3 separate regions of the Homo sapiens genome follow, and regions 2 and 3 are each linked to region 1. The links are contacts of gene promoters, found by promoter capture Hi-C in human tissues and cell types (Jung and others, 2019). All regions are on one chromosome and are shown on one strand. Each heading gives the region's core, a stretch centred on a gene start or on the middle of the fragment in contact. The rest is flanking DNA. Distances are from core to core; before and after follow the strand shown.

The links. The method cuts DNA at HindIII sites, captures the fragments that hold promoters and counts their contacts. A contact is called where the count stands out against the background at its distance.
Region 2: a fragment that was not itself captured here is called in contact with the fragment with the promoter of ZNF462 in region 1 in 2 of the 25 tissues and cell types used here (H1 embryonic stem cells and hippocampus).
Region 3: a contact is called between a fragment that was not itself captured here and the fragment with the promoter of ZNF462 in region 1, in 2 of the 25 tissues and cell types used here (H1 embryonic stem cells and liver).

What each region holds. Positions count from the first base shown.
Region 1 is chr9:106,861,263-106,865,348 of GRCh38, forward strand. ZNF462 (zinc finger protein 462) reads left to right here and starts at 1,904. Exons shown (of 13, transcript NM_021224.6): 1 at 1,904-2,093. The HindIII fragment of the contact is 13,314 bases long and covers 1-4,086 here.
Region 2 is chr9:107,135,664-107,140,003 of GRCh38, forward strand. No RefSeq gene overlaps it. Among named protein-coding and RNA genes, the nearest start is that of RAD23B, 150 kb to the right of the region's middle. The HindIII fragment of the contact is 4,535 bases long and covers 746-4,340 here.
Region 3 is chr9:106,458,842-106,462,859 of GRCh38, forward strand. The region is part of intron 3 of LOC107987108 (a long non-coding RNA gene); the gene reads left to right. Among named protein-coding and RNA genes, the nearest start is that of MIR8081, 140 kb to the right of the region's middle. The HindIII fragment of the contact is 4,466 bases long and covers 166-4,018 here.

The DNA of each region.
Region 1 (4,086 bases), core at 654-3,153:
TTTAGATCTGTTTATGAAGCCCCGCTATCGGATGGGAACCAACTCCGCGCGCGTCTCCTCCTCTTCCTTTATTGTATGGATTTATAGGTATATATCTTCTCGGACTGTTGCTTGGGGGGAGGGAGGAGAAAGGGCGAGTATTTAAAGAGGACAGACTTGCCCAGGATCCTTAACACCGCGCCTTCACCGGATGCGCGCTCCTCAATGCAAAGGAATCCAGCAACATCCCCAATTCAGACGCGGACAAAAGAAACTTTAATTAAGGTCTCTTTCTGCCCCGCGCGCTGCGCGTTTCTCTCTCCTGAGGCTGTTGATGTCCAACTCCAAGATCCAAGAAATAGAAATGGTACAATCAGCCCATGCCCTTGAACTTCAATTGCTCCTGACTTGCTGCATTGATTTTTTTGATACTGTAGAACCCCCATCCCCAACCCCCACCGCTCCCAGTCCAATTAAAACCGTAGGAGACTTTCGACCTGGTGGTGGAGGGGGGGAACCACTCCTTTGCAAAAGAGATAGTTCAGAATGATACGGGAGAGATTACACTAAATAAAAATTCAAGGTGTGAAAGCTTCATCTTGGCTCGCGTGTCTTCAACACCATGACACCTTATCATTAAGAGCGCTGATTGTTACTTTCCGAGCCTTTAGATGATCAGCCAGAAAGTGCAAACAACGCGGGGCTGGAGGGTGTAAAGTTATTTAAGCAGGCGTTCTTTTTTTCTTTTGGTGCGCAGTCAAAACATTTCACAAGTTAGGAAAAGAAAGTGGTGGTTCCGAAGCTCGGAATGATGGGCTCTTTTCCTCCTCCACCCCCCCACCTTCCATATCAGGAAAGAAATAAAACGCACAATGAGCCTTTATTTCAGGAGAGAAGACTTCAAAATACGTGCCAGTAATGGACAATTTGAGCTTTTCACTGGAAATACTCACACCGCAAGCTGGAAAGGGATTAAAAAGCCCCACGTGGTTGATCTGGGTTTATACTTGCAACCTCCAGTTCCCCACGTATGTTCTTTGCAAAGGTTGGCCTCTAGATGGATGCAAGTAAGGGACCCTCTGGGGCTCGGGCTCGGCGCCTCGGGCAGGGCTGACGTTGGGAGCGCTATGAGCTGCCGGGCAGGGTCCTCACCGGGGGCTTCCTCTGCGGGCCAGGGCTGCCGGGCGCCACCGGGACGCGAGCGCGCACGCCTCGGCCCGGCGGCCGCGCTCCTCGCACCGCCTTCTCCGCAGGTCTTTATTCATCATCTCATCTCCCTCTTCCCCTTCTCCTTCTCCTTTGCCTCCTTCTCCTTTGCCTCCTTCTCCTCCTCTTCCTCCCCCTCCTCCACCACCACCTCCTCCTCCTCTGCCGCCGCCACCTCCTCCTCTTGCATCTCACTGGCCTGGCTCTGAGTGACAAAGACAATGTCCCAGCCTTAACTTTGCAACCACCTTGCCTCCTTCTGGGGTTCAGCAGGGGGGAGGGGGAACAGCAGCAGCAGCCTCAGCATCTCCTCCAGCTTCTCCTTCTGCTCTTCTCGAGCTCTTGGATAATTCTTCCTCTTTTTTCCCCTAGCCTTTTTCCTCATTTCTTTCTTTCTTTCTTTTTTTCCTTCCTCTCTGCTGCACGTTGTTGTTGTTATTAGAAAGGCTTCGCGCACCCCCTGGTGCTCCGGCGTTTTGTGTGGCAGGAGAAGATTGTCTTCCTTCTCTCTTTCTGTCTTGCTTTCTCTCTCCCCCTGGTTGCTCATTATTCAGAGAGAGACACAGAGGGAGGGAGAGAGAGAGAGCGCGCGAGGGAGAGGGAGGAGAGGAGAGAGAAGAGGAGAGAGAGGGGAGAGAGAGAGTGAGAGGGAGAGGGAGGGAGGGAGAGAGAGAGAGAGGGAGAGAGACGGATATCTCAGGTCATCTGCAGCTGCAGCGAGTCTGAGGAGCCGAGGAAGGCAGGGAAGATGGCGATCCTCCATTGCTGAGACCCGGCAGAAGCACATGAGACTCCCAAACAACTTCCACAACAATAACCCGAGCAGGAAGAGGAGAAAGAGAAAGAGGATAAGGAGGCGGTGGGGCTGGAGAACCCGAAGCACCTCCCGGCGCCGGGACGCTTCTTCTGTAAGTTACTGCAATTAACAACCACCTCGGGGTGGTCCGAGTGCTCCGGGGAAGAGAGCGCGGGGTGGTGGAGGCACAAACGCGCTCATTCATTCGGCCAAGGAGGGTTGGAGGAGCGGGGAGGAGAGGAAGTCCCCTGCATGGACTGGCTGTTGGAAGAGGAGAAGAAGCGAGAGAGAAGAGGAGGAGGGGGAGGAGGGAGAGCAGGAGGGGGAGGAGGAAGAGGAGGAGGAGAAGCGAGGGAGGAAGAGGAGGAGGAGGAAGAGGAGGAGAAGGTGGTAGTGGTGGCAGTGGAGGTGGCTGTGCTTTTCCTGCTGGCTGCTGCTCCTGCTGGGGGGAGTGAGCGCGGTGGCTTAATTAATTTCGTGTAGTTCTATGAAGAGAAGAGAAAATGAAAGATGAGTGAGAAGAGAGCTGGAGGCTTAGGACGGATGCTCCGAGTGTGGGGACAGGAGTAGGGACAGAGGGGGGCGGAGGGCGGGAGGCCGGAGACCTGAGCCGAGAGCCAGAGGGAGCGAGCGAGGGTCAGAGGAGGGAGAGCTCCGTGCGAGCGGCCCCGACCTGAGCGGGTTGACCTCTTTCTTTCTCTGTCCCTCTCCTTCCTTTCCCCCTTCTGTCTGCCTGTCCCCCGCCCGATGGCAAAGCCGTGCGGATTGGCAGCCCCCCTCTTCCTCAGGTATTTGGCTCTCTCTCTCTCTCTCTCTCTCTCTCTCTCTCTCTCTCTCTCTCTCTCTCTCTCTCTCTCTCTCTCTCTCCCTCTCCCCGAAGTTGGGATGCGGGGTCGGGATGTGTCGGGGGGTGGCTGCTGCAGCTGCTGGTGCCGGTGCTGCTGGTGAACAGAGAGGCGAGGAGCGGGGGGCACCGGCCGGGTGGGGGGCGCAGGTTCAGGAGCGGCTGAGGAGCTGTCTCCAGGCTGGAGGTTCAGAAGCGTCTGGTGGAGGAGGACAACGGTTTCTGGAGAGGAGAAGCCATTACACACGCTTGGCTCTCCTCTGAGGAAGGGAGAAAGGAAGGCAGGGGCCTGGGGGGGCGTCTCACTCCTGGTGCAGTTCCCAGGGGTCTGCCCTCCTTCCAGGCACGAGGGGAAGCCGCAGCCGCCCCCCATTGGAGCAGCCCCTCTTTCCCTTTCTTTATCTCCCTGTCCTCCATTTGCAAGCTGTCTGCTTTGGTTCCAGTCCAGACTCCAAAACACAAAGCTCCTTCTCACGTTCATTCTCCAGGCTGTTCACCATTCCTGAAGGAACCCTCGTTTTCTTTTCATTGTGGCTTCTAACCTACAGAGAGGGAGGGAGGGAGGCTGCCTGGAGTTCCTTTTATATTCCTCCCCAACCAAGAAAAAAAAAAGTTTCATTTTTAAGCACGCGTCTGGGATGGGGAAAGACCAACCAGTTGGGGCTTTCTCCCAGGGCTCCCGGGGGCTGTGTCTGAGTGTCTGTGTTGGCTGTTTGGTTTGCTTTGGTTTTGTTTCTGGAGGTTGCTTGCAGGTTTTTGGAGGAAGTGACTAGTTTGGTTAAGAGCTGGGAACTGAGTCAGGTAAGCCGTGTCATGTTGTAACTCCACCAGAAAATGGAGGAGAGCGGGTTTCCAGGAGACAAAGCTGAGATGAGAAGTGTTTATAAAATTATGGATGTCTCCATTTTGAAGCTCTGTTGGTGATGGCTGGAGGAGGAGGAGGCTTGCTTGCCTACTCCTTCTCTCTTTCCAGAGGGAAACCTTGTGGTGGTTCCTCACTGTCTATTCATTATGCAAGGAAATGAGGGCTTTTAAGGGTTCCTCAGATTTTTCTCCACCAAAGAGTGCTTTCACAAGTTATTGAGGCGTTTGTTTCCATTTTAAAGTAAACTTTTGGAATTTTTTTTCTCCTTTTGAGTGGACCTGAAGGGTTTTGACCTCCTTCAGGAAAGGCAAGGCAAAAACCTTAAAACAGTTCCACTGAGGTCTTCACACAACTTTAAGCTGCTCCAGGTCTCCTGAAAGTCACCAGGAAATGTGA
Region 2 (4,340 bases), core at 1,763-4,262, 280 kb after region 1:
GTCAAGGCTGGCCCAGTCAGTACTCAGTAAACATACAAGTTAGACTCCACCATTCCCTGCTTGTCCTCCAACTATTGCAGACCCTCTCTGTCTGGTCTTGGCTCTGTCCTTGCTCTTTGGTCTACTCCTTTGTCTTCCCAATGTACACATTTCTTAAGTCTGTCTCCCACTTCTAGTCCCTTGAGGGTGAATGTTAGCTTCCCTGGTTTGAACATCCAGTGCTCTCTAGCTGTTGTTCTGTTGTTTGCTTTAACCTCTATGGTATGGAGCAAATTGGACCCCCAGAGATGTCCATGCCCTAATCCCCAAATCCTTACAGGGCAAAAGAGACTTTGCAGATGTGATTAAGGGTACAAACCTTGAAATTGGGAGATTATACTGGATTATCTGGGCGTGCCCAATCTGATCACATGGAGTCCTTAAAAGTGGAGAACATTTCCCAGCTGAGTCAGAGAGCGAGCTGCCACTATGGAGGCAGAGTCAGAGAGAGGCAATGTTTCTATGAAGGTGGAAAAAGCGGCACACGAGTTGAAGAATACGGGTGGTCTCTGGAAGCTGGAAAAGGCGGGGAGACGGATGTTCCTCTAAAGCCTCCACCAAGAAGTACAGCCCTACTGACACCCTACTTTGAGCCCAGTGAGACCTGGGTTGGACTTCTGACCTATAGAACTATAAGATAATAAATCTGTGCTGTTTTAAGCCACAAAGCTTATGGTAATTTGGTACAGCAGCAATAAGGAACTGATACACTACCCCCTCCACCTTTAGTCTATTCTGGAAAGCTTTCCTATCTGACGAGGCTAAGGTATCAGGGATATTCCCTAACTTGCCCATGAAGTGGGATGGGGTGGCAGAACCATGTCATAAGTCAAAGTCCACCTCAACTGGGCAACTATGAGACAAGAGATGTGCATTATAGCACGGTGATCAACACACAGCTCCTAGAGGCTGCAAGGCCTGTCTCTGCCATACTGGATTTGTCTGCTTGTCCAGTTTACTCCTGAACCTTTGAAATGTGAGGGTTTCATTTGTTTCTGTAAATGACCTTCTGTAACATGTATTTCCCATGCCTGAGTTCTCCAGAACCACTGTCCACTTAACTGAGAAACAGAGAAGGGAAGCAAAGGCCGTGACATCCAGTGTGCCTGCCACATCAGTCTCCCCTCTGTTTCTGAGGTGGCTGTGTACTGGAATTAAAGGTGTCAAAGGATCCATAGTTTCTCTCACTCTGTAGGTTGTGTGTTTACCCTGTTAATAGTTTCTTTTGCTGTGCGGAAGCTCTTTAGTTTAATTAGATCCCATTTGTCACATTTTTGCTTTTGTTGCAATTGCTTTCGGCATCTTCATCATGAAGTGTTTGCCCGTGCCTATGTCGTGAATGGTATTGCCTAGGTTGTCTTCCAGTGCCCACCAATGATAGACTGGATAAAGAAAATGTGGTCCATATATACCATGGAATACTATGCAGCCATGAAAAGAACGAGATCATGTCCTTTTCAGGGCCATGGATGGAGCTAGAGGCCATTATCCTTAGCAAACTAACAGAGGAACAGAAAACCGAAAACCACATGTTCTCACTTATAAGTAGGAGCTAAATGATGAAAACACATGGACACATCAAGGGGAACAACACACATTGGGACCTGTCAGAGGGCAAAGGGTAAGAGAAGGGAGAAGATCAGGAAAAATAGCTAATGGTTACTAGGCTTAATACCTGGTGATGACATAATCTGTACAACAAACCCACATGACATGACAAACTTGTACATGTACCCCTGAACCTAAAATAAAAGTTAAAAAAAAAAGATGTCAAAGAGGAGCAAAAGACAGTACAAAGCTTGGGAGGCAGCCACTTCTAGGATTTGAATGCTATGTCTGATGTGACCTAGCTGTGTGGCCTTTGGGCTAGTTGCTTAACCTCTCTGAGCCTTAGTTTCTTTATCTGTAAAATTTACACAAGAATGTTGACTTGCAAGTTTGCTGTAAATATTAGGCAATAAAACGTATAGAATGTTTCCAAAAAAGTACCTGGCACACAGTAGGTACACGGCCAACAGCACCTAATGGGAGTAGAACGCAAAAGAACACAGAATATGTGGAGTTCATATTGGTGACACACTGTAACCACTAGGGGGTGCTCAAAAACCCCTTTCACTCTGTCCCGAAGGAAAAATATCTCATCTTTGTGAGACTAAGATCCCAATTGGACATTGCCTAGGAGATAAAGTCTTCAGTGGAAGGAATAGAAGAGTTTAAACCTTCTATGTCAAAGCTTCCATGTCAAGAGATCTGTGTCAGATCTCTCTTTTGGGTGTCTTTTCTCGATTCCCTCCCATATGGCTGGAGTAGTGAGAGACCCAGCGCAGTGGTGTGCTACGGACCAAGGACTGTTAAATTTTCAGCTATTATTAAATACTAAATCATAGAAATTTACAAGTAAGTAAATCATTATAAACAAGAGTAATAAATACTCAAAAATCATTATTATTTCACTGTGTTTTACTGTCAGCTCTGATGTTGAGGTCACGCGTATTGTATCTTTAAGGTGGAAATATTACATAATCGTGTGCTACTGCGTGTCTTCCCAGCCCAATATTCAGTGGGGTCATGTTGGCAACTTGAAATTGGCCATGGTGGGAGTATTTGTACCACAGAAATTGGCAAACACTACAAACCAGGGCTTGATTTATTGTTCTGTTGATTATCTAGGGCAGGGGCCAACAAACTACATTCCGTGGGCCAAATTTGGCCCACTGCCTGTTTTGTAGAGCCAACTGTGAAATCACAGGCTAGCACTGTGAGCTGCAGAGACTAAGCTGGACATCCACCCCGCTCTGCTCTATTTCCCCTTTGCTCCCAGCACCTGCCTCTCTGGCTGGTGACCGCACATCATCACTGCCCAGGATCTATGCTGGTTGCCATCTACACATTGGAGACTGCTACTGGCAACTGCTGAGCACGATGCAAGTAGAATCTCAGGCTGGGAGTTGGTAACTTAGCGAGTCACCCCACCTCTGATCAGTTGTGCAAGCTGAGAAGAATGGGCTCTCTGAAAGAAGAAAAGGGAAAACTGGGATCTGGATGTCACTAGGGCAGACAGTAAGATTGATCTTGGCAGTCAGCATGAGCTGCTGCCCTTGTTGTGGGCAAAGTCCTTGTGGAGAAGCATTGCTCCTGTGTTGGAGGATGGCCTCTGGCTGGGAGAAACATGGTCCAACAGTGACTACAGTTGGTTTTCTGAAGCTCTGAGAGCAGCTCAGGCTAGCAGGCTGATAAATTGTAACCAAGTTAGTGAGTGCTATTAGGGACTCCCAAGGAGCTGTGAAAGTACACACAAGGGAACTAAAACACAGCCTGGGGTGAGGAGGGGCCAGAGAAGATGTCTTGAGAAGAACTCTCAGCTGGAGCTGAGAGCTGGGAGAAAAGCAAGAGTTAGTGAGGCAGTTGAAAGGGAAAAGTGTTTGGGGCAGAAGGAGCACTCAAGCAAAGAAACGGGAGTCAGAACATCGCGGTCCATGACCAGGGAACCTCAAGGTGATCTGTGCATGATTTGAACGATAGGTGCCTAGGGGGAGTAGAGACAGAGGATTGGCAGATCATACAGATCCCATGTCTTATTCTAATAAATTTGGGTCTTAAAGGATGATGGGAAGTTTCTCCAAGTGGATTTGAATTTTAGATATATCCCTTCAGCAGGAAACGTACAGCAGGGGCCCCCAACCCAGGGGCCATGGACCAGTACCCGTGCACAGTCTGTTAGGAACCGGGCTGCACAGCAGGAGGTGAGCTGTAGGTGAGTGAGTATTACCACCTAAGCTCCAGCTCCTGTCAGATCAACAGTGGCATTAGATTCTCATAGGAGTGTAAACCTTACTATGAACTGCGCATGCAAGGGTTATCTGCTCCATATAAGAATCTATCTAATGCCTGATGAAACCATTCCCTACTCCCCTATCCATGGAAAAATTGTCTTCCACAAAACTGGTCCCTGGTGCCAAAAATGTTGGAGACCACCAACATGGAGGATAGACTAGTGTTGGGAGGAACACTGGAGTTAACGAGATCATCAAGGAAGCTGTTGAGTAGTTCTAGTAAGGGATGCAAAGTCTCCATAAAATTGTGTGACAAATGAGGTAGCATCGGGTATTGGTTGGGATACAGGCTAAGCTATTATAAGAAAGAGGTCCAAATACAGTGGCTTAAATGAGATATAAGTGTATTTCTTTCCCACAATTCTGGCCAAAGCTAGGTGGGTGGCTGACGGTGGGCAGATATCTCTGCTTTGCAAAATCATCCAGAAATCCAGCTGGCTGGCCTGCTCTGCCAAACCCAACATGTGG
Region 3 (4,018 bases), core at 1,149-3,648, 400 kb before region 1:
AATCACTTTACTACCTGATAGACCCAGGGCAAATTACTTAGCCTCTCTGAGCCTGTTTCCTCACCTCTTAAAGACAAATAATAACATGTAGCTGACAGAGTTGTTGTAATTTTTAAATAATTACCTATTTATGTGTCTATATGCACTAGAAACTCCCCAAGGACAAGGCTCAGGCATTCATTCATTTCCATTCAAAAATATTTATTGAGCAACTATGGCATGGGGCATTGTGGATATATAGGTATAGACAAGTCAAGTAAGTCTATGCTTATATGAAGTTTATGTCACAGAGATGTTGAAACAGACAATAAACAAATGTGTGATATAATTTTAGGTTATTACTAGTATTTTGAAGAAAAGCAAAGCAGAATCGAGGCTAGAAAGTGATTGTGGTGATGCTGCTACTTTGAAATAATCGTCAGGGAGTTTTCTCTGAGGAAAGAACTTTGAGTTGAGATGTATGAAAGCAAACCACGTGGAAACGTGAGGAAGAGATTTACAAATAGAGGGTACAGTAAATGCAGATGTCTAGAATAGAGAAGCTTCATAGGTTCATGAAAAAGGGAGAAAGTCAGTGTAATGGGAATGGAATGAATGAGGAGGGTACCAGGAAGGGAGGTAGGCAGGGGCCAATTCAGGTAGGATTGTGTTGGCCATGATTGATACGAAATCATTGTGGAGTTTGATCAAGGGAGACATGTGGTTTTACTTTTCCACATTCAAACATGCACTTTTGCTGGTATATGGAGAATAGTCCAGAAGGACCAACATAGAAACAGGGGCTACTGCAGTCTTCTTTATTTTAAATCCCCAATATCCAATATAATGGCTGGTGCATACTTGTGAACAATTAATTCGGGGTTTTTTTTTTTTTTTTGAAAGGACATTTGGGCTAGGGAATGTACAACAATCTCAAAACTGTTGAACTATGAGCTCACTTTTGAACTATGAGCTCACTGGTGGGTATAGCACAAAGCAGGGACAACCAGACTACTTTTTCAGTTAAGTGAGGTTCATTCAACAGCATTTTGAATAACAAAGTTCACAAATAGACAATGAATTGTCAGGATTTTCAAATAATTTTGAAAAAGAACATCAATCAATAACTATCCAATATGGCCTTAAAATTGACTGTCTGATGAACCAGCAGTAATAAACAGCAAGAGCTTCCTATTCTTGCTTCAAAGCAGGAAGAAGGAGGTTGGTAGTAAAACCCTGCTCCAGATTTCTAGCTGTGAAAAAATATGAGCATTTTTTATCATTTCAAACCTTCAAATTCTTGAGATCTCTTAAAAAATGCTTTTGTGAGTAAAACAAAGACACATTTCCTTATAAATCCAGAAAACACAGGAGCTATTAAGCTTGAGAGCCCCTTTTAAGTCACGCCATTGCCAGGACTCTAACTCAGGTTGGATACCATATGTGGCTGTTCTTAAGTGGTCACTGTAAAATGTCAGAGGTTTGAGAAATAGGTATTCAGGTGTTTGGAGAAACAAATAATCTGTACTCAGAGGTACTAGAAATAATTCCCTTAAGAAGCTTAATAATTCTCATCAATGGAATGGTTTTTGGCTTCTCTAGTATCTCTCGTAGCATTAGTCAGTGCTAATTTATTAGTAATAAATATTGACTGAACAAAATTCTGATCCAGGAATACAGCAGTAAAGTACTAGGATCTCCAGAACATTTATTCATTTGTTCATGAGAAATATTGTGAAACAATTTCAATGTATGACATACTGTGTTAGACAGTAGAAATATAAATATGAAAAAATAGTCTAGTGAGAAATCAGCCATTTTAAAAAATTATAAAAACAATGGGTTAGATGCCAGAATGAAAGATTCTGTTATAACGGATGATACAGTTAAATGGAAGTTCTGAAATTGGCCTCGGATGCTTACCAGATATATGGGTGGTATCAAGCACCTACAGAGAGAGTAGAAACCCTTGTTATATAAAGAGGGCCCTTATCTTGTCCTAATCCTTGTGCTTTTACCTTGGGCCACAGACTGTGCTCCTCCTCTCTCACTCTTCTTTACCCACTGGCTTTTGATTCTCACATGTGTATTCTTCAATATAAACTTTTGAGTGATTTCACCAAGTTCAAAAAATAACTCCATTGTGATTTTGACTGTCATTTTCTTAGTCCTATACCAAAATTTGGAAGAATTTGTACTCTTGAAATACTAAAGATAATAATAGTATAGGAGGACAATCTGCCTCCCTATTATTTAAATCTTAATTTATATTTCTCAGGGTAGTTTTATAGGTTTTGTTTACTTTATTCCTAAACATTGTTCATGAAGATTAGTCTTAGGGTGTTTTTTGGCAGGGGAGGCTCAGGATGAATTGAATACTTTTTGTATTTATATTTCTAATTAATACTGTTTGCTATATAGGGAAACTATTGAATTTTTAAAATGTATCTTATATTTAATCACTTCCTTAAATTTTCTAATGGATCTTAAATTTTTTTCAGTTGATATTCAAATTGTAGCAAAAACAACAAATGGATTTACTCCTTCATTGTTCTGTTGAATGTTCTATTTTGGCAGCCCCAATTTCCAGAACAAAGATAAAATGCCAAGGGGCTGATCCAAGGAGAAACTCTACTTTTGCCTCAGGATTTTTCAGAGCTTGTCCCAGAACTGATTGAGGCACTTTTCTTTTGTCATTGACTTTGACATGCCTAATTGCTCCTTTTCAGTTGAGAATGACTGTACCATTAGCTATGGAAGGTCTATGTCTAGTATGTGCCGGGACAATGGCTGCCACCTTGACCTACAAATTCTAGTCAAGTGTTCTTCCCTTTACTCCCTTTCTCCCAAACTCCTGGATTCAATAGACATTTTCTCAGCGCCTATCACTGTAATGAGCCAAGTCCTAAGGCTTTAAAGATGTTAGATCTTACCTTGAAGGTACTAACAGCTAAGGACAGCCAATGGTATTTCTCTTGTGAGTTCCATACAACATGTACATCCAACCACCTGATTACCATCATCTCTTAAATTTCCCACAGAAATCTCAAACCTAATATTCCTATAACAGAAATCTTGATTCTGTCATCAAACCCACTCCCCTTCTTTATACATAATACCAACTTACATTATGTTGTTCAAGCAAGAAACCTGGAAAATTTTCCTGATTTCTTCATTCTCTTCATCAACTTCCCACTCTCATTCCATCCGTCTGCAAGTACTGTTGAGTTAATACCCAACATGTTTTTAAAATCTATCTGCTTCTCTTTATCTATACTGTCACTACATTGGTTCATGACACAATAATCTCTTGCTTGAATTACTATACCAGCCTCCTAACTGGTTGCTTCACTTCCATGTCTACCCAGCATGATTTCATCATCCAATAACAGCCATATACATTTTTTTTAAACTTAGACTTAAATTTCATCATTCCATCACTGCTTTAAACATTTAAAGGTCTTGGTAATTTCACTAAAGTATAAATCTTTTACTATAGTCCAGGGTCCTCTGTGAACTTGTCCTTGCCTATCACTCCATTTCATCTCACATTACTTTTCCTTTCCACGGTACGCACCCCAGCTATACTGGATTTTCCTCGGTTCTTCAAACAGGCCTTTGCAGATACCATTCCATCTGCCCAGATTGTCTATTTCTCTACTTGTCACATGGCTAATTGCTTCTCATCCCTTACATCCATAGTCTTCAAATATTTTTGATTATCATGGGGCAAAAACATTGAACCTGGCCAGGTGAGGTGGCTCCTGTCTGTAATCTCAGCACTTTGGGTGGCCGAGGTGAGTGGATCACTTGAGGTCAGGAGTTCGAGACCAGACTAGCCAACATGGTGAAACCCCATATCTACTAAAAATACAAAAAAATTAGCTGGGCATGGTGGTGGGTGCCTGTAATCCCAGCTTCTCGGGAGGCTGAGGCAGGAGAATCGCTTGAACCTGGGAGGCAGAGTTGCAGTGAGCCAAGATCATGCCATTGCACTCCAGGCTGTGAAACAGAGCAAGACTCCATCTGAAAAACAAAA